Regions from separate parts of the Homo sapiens genome. Here region 1 is linked to region 2. The links are contacts of gene promoters, found by promoter capture Hi-C in human tissues and cell types (Jung and others, 2019). All regions are on one chromosome and are shown on one strand. Each heading gives the region's core, a stretch centred on a gene start or on the middle of the fragment in contact. The rest is flanking DNA. Distances are from core to core; before and after follow the strand shown.

Region 1 (3,054 bases), core at 65-2,564, 47 kb before region 2:
TTTGTTTTAAGATGGAGTTTCACTCTTGTTGCTCAGGCTGGAGTGCAATGGCACAATCTCGGGTCACTGCAAACTCCGCCTCCCAGGATCAAGCAATTCTCCTGCCTCAGCCTCCCAAATAGCTGGGATTACAGGCATGTGCCACCACGCCCAGCTAATTTTGTATTTTTTTTTTTTAGTAGAGATGGGGTTTCACCATGTTGGCCAGGCTGGTTTCTAACTCCTGACCTCAGATAATCCACCCGCTTTGGCCTCCCAAAGTGCTGGGATTACAGGTGTGAGCCACCACACCCAGCCCTCACCTCCTTTTTGAATTTGGGACTTGTATCTTTACTTAAAATTTGGATAGATTAAACCGGGCATTTCCACACACTGTTCAAATACAACTCATTTAAACTACAATGTACTTTACCAAATATACAAACAAGCAAACAAAACCAGCTTATCATTTTAAAGTCTGTGTCAGCCACCACTCATCTGTTAGTCCAGATTAGAAGCCTTGGAGTCATCTGTGGTCCTTCTCTCTACTTTGTCTCTCACCTGCAATTCCTTCCTTAAGCACCAAATGCCAGGTATTAAGCTAAACACTGAGGATACAAAGCTTAGCCAGTGGTGGTGTGGGTGCTTGTACTCCCAGCTTACTTAGGAGGCCAAGGCAGGAGGATTGCTTGAGCCCAACAGGTCAAGTCTGCAGTGACCCATGATCGTGCCACTGCACTCCAGCCTGGACAACAGAGTGAAACCCTGTCTCTAAAAAGTAAAATATAAAAATAAAACTAAAGTTGAAAAGACAGCCCAGGCCAGGCTCTGCAGCTGTTAATGTCTATGGGTAGAAGGCAACAAGTATTTACAAAACAGTATTTACCAAGTATTATAACAGACATATACAAAATGCCACATGATCTTGTTTAATCCACACAATAATCTTGTGAAATAGTGTCTTTTTAATAACAGCTTTATTGAGATATAATTGACATACCATAAAAGCCACCCTTTTAAAATGTACAATTCAGTAGGTTTTAGTACATTCATAGTGCCATGACATCAAATTAGTTGTTATCACTAATTCCAGAACATTGGGTTTTTTAAAAATTTTGATAGAGATGAAGTTTCACTGTGTTGCTCAGGCTGGTCTCAAACTCCTGAGTAAAGTGATGCAAAGTGCCTTGGCCTCCCAAAGTGCTGAGATTACAGGTGTGAGCCATGGTGGCCAGCCCAGAACATTGTTTTGAGCAGTTTTAAGTTCATAGCAAAATTGAGCAGAAAGTACAGAGTTCCCATTCATTCCCTGCCCCCACACATGCATAAACAAGGATCAGCATCTCCACTAGAGTGATAGATTTGTTACAATCAATGAACTTTCACTGATTCATCATTACCCCCAAAAGTTCATAATTTACATTAGGGTTCACTCTTGGTGCCATACATTATATGGGTTTGGACAAAAGTATAACGATATGTATCCACTTTTGTAGTATCATACAGAGTGGTTGTCACTGCCCCCAAAATCTCTGTGCTCTGCCTATTCATCACTCTCTCCTAATCCTTGGCAACCTGGACTTCTCCGTATTTTTGCTTTTCCAGACTGTTATGTACAGTATTTGGAATCACACAGTATGTAGCCTTTTCAGATTGGCATCTTTCACTTAGTGATACGCGTTTATGGGTCCTCCATGTCTTTTCATGTCTTGATAGTTCATTTTTTAGTGCTGAATGCTATTCCATTGTCTGAATGTACTACAGTTTATCCATTCACCTGCTGAAGGACATCTTGGTGGCTTCCAAGTTTTGACAATCATGAATAAAGCTGGTATAAGCATCTGTGTGCAGGTTTTTTGTGGACATATTTTCAGTTCATTTGGTTAAATAACCACAAAGCAAATTGCTGGTTCATATGGTAGGAGTATATTTAATTTTTGTAAGAAACTGCCAAATTGTCTTCCAAAGTGTCTGTACCATTTGCCCTTCCCCTGAGCAATGAATGAGAGTTCCTGTTGCTCAACATCCTTGTCAGCATTTGATATTGTCAGTGTTTTAGATTTTGGCCATTCTAATAGATGTGTAATAGTATCTCATTTTTGTTTTAATTTGCAATTCCCTAAGGGCATATGATATATAGTTTGGATATTTGTCGCCACTCAAATCTCATGTTGAAATGTAATCCCTAATGTTGGAGGTGGGGCCTGGTGGAGGGGTTTGGGTCATGGGGCAGATCCCTCATGGCTTGGTGCTGTCCTTGCAATGGTGAGTGAGTTATCATAAGATTGGTTGTTTAAGCGTGTGGCACCTTCCCCCTACACTGTCTTGCTCCTGCCTTCACCATGTGATGATGTGCCTGCTCCTGCTTCACCTTCCATCATGAGTGAAAGCTCCCCGAGGCCTCCCCAGAAGCTGATAAGATAGATGCTGGTGCCATGCTTGTACAGCCTACAGAACTGTGAGAAATTAAACCTCTTTTCTCAATAAAATACCCAGTCTCAGGTATTTCTTTTCTTTCTTTTTTTTTTTTTTTTGAGATGGAGTCTCACTCTGTCGTCCAGGCTGGAGTGTGGTGGCGCAATGTTGGCTCACTGCAACCTTCACCTCCCAGGGTCAAGTGATTCTCCTGCCTCAGCCTCCCAAGTAGCTGGGATTACAAGTGCATGCCACCATGCCCAGCTAATTTTTGTATTATTAATAAAGATGGGGTTTCACCATGTTGGCCAGGCTGGTTTTGAACTTCTGGCCTCAAGTGATCCTCCTATGTTGACCTCCCAAACTGCTGGGATTATAGGTGTGAGCCACCATGCCCAGCCTGGCTACTTTTAAGTTTCCATTTCTCTCCAGCAATAACTAATCTTTTCATTCATTATGTCTGTTGTAACCTTTAACATATTGATAATAGTTGCTTTATATTTAAATTTTTGTTAATTTATTTAGAGATGGGATCTTGCTCTGTTGCCCAGGCTGGAATGCAGTGGTACAGTCATGGCTCACTACAGCCCTAAACTCCAGGAGTCAGGTAATCTTCCTGCCTCAGCCTCCTGAGTAGTTGGGACTACAGGCAGGAGCCAC
Region 2 (3,261 bases), core at 628-3,127:
TTGATAGACATTTAGGGTGTTTACAATTATTTTGCTGCAAACTGCTGCAGCAGGCAACTTCATTTTCTTTTTTCTTTTTTTTGAGACAGTTTCGCTTTTGTTGCCCAGACTCCAGGCTGGAGTGCAACGGCGTGATCTCAGCTCACTGCAGCCTCCGCCTCCCAGGTTCAAACGATTCTCCTGCCTCAGCCTCCCGAGTAGCTGGGATTACAGGTATGCACCACCACGCCAGGCTAATTTTTTTTTTTTTTGTATTTAGTAGAGATGGGGTTTCACCATGTTGGTCAGGCTGCTCTCAAACTCCTGACCTCAGGTGATCCACCTGCCTCAGCCTTCCAAAGTGCTGGGATTACAGGCTTGAGACACTGCGCCCGGCCTCATTTTCTTCTTTTGAACAATTTCCTCCTGATTAGGGGTGGGGTTACCGATCAGACATTTTGAACATCTTTCTGACTCTTGACAATTTTGCATGTCACAAGATCTGTTGTCCTTGGCCCTAGCCTCTGCAAAGCCAGACCCTAAGGGCTGGCCCCTCTGACATCTCCCTTCCTCCAGCTTTGCGGTCACCCTTTTCACCTGGGGCCTCTGCCTCAGCCTCCTGCCTCTCCTCTCCACAGCCCACTCCTTCTCCTGCCCACAGGCCTGCGGGCTTCCCCTCCCCAGGCAAGCTGGGGCCGTGTCGCAGCGCTTGGCCATCACGACTTTGCCATTGCCAATGCAATCTGGCTCACTGGCATGCACTGTGCTTACCTTAGCCTCAGGGTGTCCTGCATAGGTCCCCAGGAAGATAAACCCTGGGTGATGTGTCATTTTCCCCTTTCCGTTCCTTCCCACGCCCTTCCCCCCACCTCCCCGCGTAGGCAGCGCATCTAGTTGGCACTCCATAAATATCCAAAGTATTTACAAAATAACGTAGAAGTTCTATGCTGTTTAGTTAGATCTCTTAAGGTTGATAATGTACAAGGCAATTTGCATCAGGAGCAGACGAGATAGGGCCCGGCAGATATAAATTAAAAATGCAATTGCACGCATTCATTCAACGAGAACTCACTGAGCAACTACTATGTGCCAACATTATCCACTGCAGTGAATAAAAGACAAACAAACAAGCAAATAACAAAAAAAAAAACAAAAGAGCAAGAAAGTGGCCGGGTGCAGTGGCTCACCGCTGTAATCCCAGCACTTTGGAAGGTCGAGAAAGGAGGATCGCTTGAGGCCACGAGTTCAAGACCAGACTGGGCAACATCATAGTGAGACCTCGTCTCTACAAAAATTAAAAAATTAGTCGGGGGTGGTGCGCCCAGCTCTACTCGGGAGGCTGAGGTGGGAGGATCGCTTGAGCCCAGGAACTGTAGGCTGCAGTGAGCCAGGATCGCACAACTGCACCACAGCCTGGGCAGCAGAACGAGAAATAAATAAACAAATAAAAGCCAGAAAGTAAAAATAAAGTGTTAGATGGCGATTCGAGCTGAGGAGGAAATCAGGCAGGGGAAAGAATCTGAAAGCGAGGAGTGAGTGGCTGGCAAGGCTCCTTCGGAAGGTGGCAATAACAGTCATAGACCGGTCACATCAATTGGGTGTTTACTGCGGGCCAGTGTGTGCCACCAACCTCACACCCGAAAGCCACAAAGACTCACGCCACAACGCAACGAGGCAGGGGCTCCTCCTCCTCCCTTGGTATACGGAAAGAAGCGTAGGGAGCAGAGTTGGGATGCTAGTCAGTACCCCCCTGCACCTAGCCCTTGCCCCTCCGTCTGGCTTTCCCCACTCCCGCTCCGGCGGAGCTAAGGTTAACATTAGACGAGGCTGTGGCTACCGGAAAGAGCGCAGGCGCAGAGCGCGGAATGCGCCTGCGCAGAGCGCTGGGCGACGTGGCCAGTCGGGGCCCGGAAGTGGTCCCTGTAGAACCACTGTGGCACCGCTACTCCGTGCCGCGCCCGTCGAGCATTGCGTTGCTGCATTGCGCCCCACCGACTCCACTATGTTGAAGAAATTCGACAAGAAGGATGAGGAGTCAGGTGAGGGGGCCAGGCCTGGGTCTGAGGGAGGCCGGACCCCCACCCGCCGAGCTTTCCTTCTGGTTCTCTGTCCTGACCCGGAGGCTGAGGCCCAGTGAGGGGCAGGGGCTTGTGCCAGGGTCCACAGCTAGTCAGTGGCAGGCCTCGGAGAGCCCGAGCATGCGCGGCTGTCTCACTCTTGTAAGCTCGGACTGCAATTTTCTGGGTGACCTTGGGCGCGACAAACACCCCCCCCCCCAGGCCTCAATTTACCCATCTGTCAAAGGAGGGGACCATGCCGAATGTTCTCTTGTTACTTTCTTCGTCCAACCTCTTGGGATTCGCTGGGGCTACGTTGGTGCTGGCCAAACTGGGGTGTAACCTGCGGAGCCAGCGTCCTGTGACTGGGAACTCTGACCCCATCATTCATTTATTCAGCAAAGTATATTGAGCAGTTACTGTATGCCAGGTACTGTACGGTGTCCTGGATACTGCAACAGAGCAAGTGGGACACTCAGTGCCTGAGCTAGGAATATTAGAATGGTTGCACCCACGATGGAGGAGGCAGACATCAACCAGATAATCACACGTGTAATTATTTGCAAATGTGTCATCTGCTATGAAGGAACTAGTTACAACGAGATGGTGGTCCCTGGCACATAGGGACTTAGTTAATTACAAGTTATATAAATGAACACAAGACATGGCACCATGAGAAGCACAGGACTGTACCAGGGCTGCTGGGAGATTGTGAGTGGTTTGGGGTAGAGTGGAGCCCACCTGCTTGCAGGAGACTAGTAGGATCCCTAGACAGATTGTAGAGGCTTGATTGCCATTCCTGAGGAGTTTGAACTTTACTAGATTTCCTAGGAAGGGACATCTTCCCTTTACCTATGTCTGGGAGAGTTTTGAAGTTCAGAGTCACAACCTACCTTCTCCATTGTCCTTGACCGTAGGTGGAGGCTCCAACCCATTCCAGCACCTTGAGAAGAGTGCGGTACTCCAGGAGGCAAGTGACATTTGCTCCCCTCTAGCTTCCATCATAAATATTCACCACCAATGCAACTGAAATACCAACACATTCAAAGTGTTGTTTTAAAGAGCAACACGGGAGAAAACTTGTGCCTGGAAGTTTTCTGGAAGACAGGAAAACTTTGTTTCTGGAGAGAGTTAGTTATGCTTACTTCTTTTTTTTTTTTTTTTTTTTTTTTTTTCTGAGACAGAGTCTTGCTCTGTCGCTCAGGCTGGAGTGCAGTGGCGTGAT

Evidence for each region. The method cuts DNA at HindIII sites, captures the fragments that hold promoters and counts their contacts. A contact is called where the count stands out against the background at its distance.
Region 1: a fragment that was not itself captured here is called in contact with the fragment with the promoter of COPG1 in region 2 in 2 of the 25 tissues and cell types used here (aorta and hippocampus).

Annotation. Positions count from the first base shown.
Region 1 is chr3:129,200,931-129,203,984 of GRCh38, forward strand. No RefSeq gene overlaps it. Among named protein-coding and RNA genes, the nearest start is that of CNBP, 19 kb to the left of the region's middle. The HindIII fragment of the contact is 6,057 bases long and covers 1-3,054 here.
Region 2 is chr3:129,247,729-129,250,989 of GRCh38, forward strand. COPG1 (coat protein complex I subunit gamma 1) reads left to right here and starts at 1,878. Exons shown (of 24, transcript NM_016128.4): 1 at 1,878-2,018; 2 at 2,954-3,006. The coding sequence starts at 1,982. The HindIII fragment of the contact is 12,995 bases long and covers 1-3,261 here.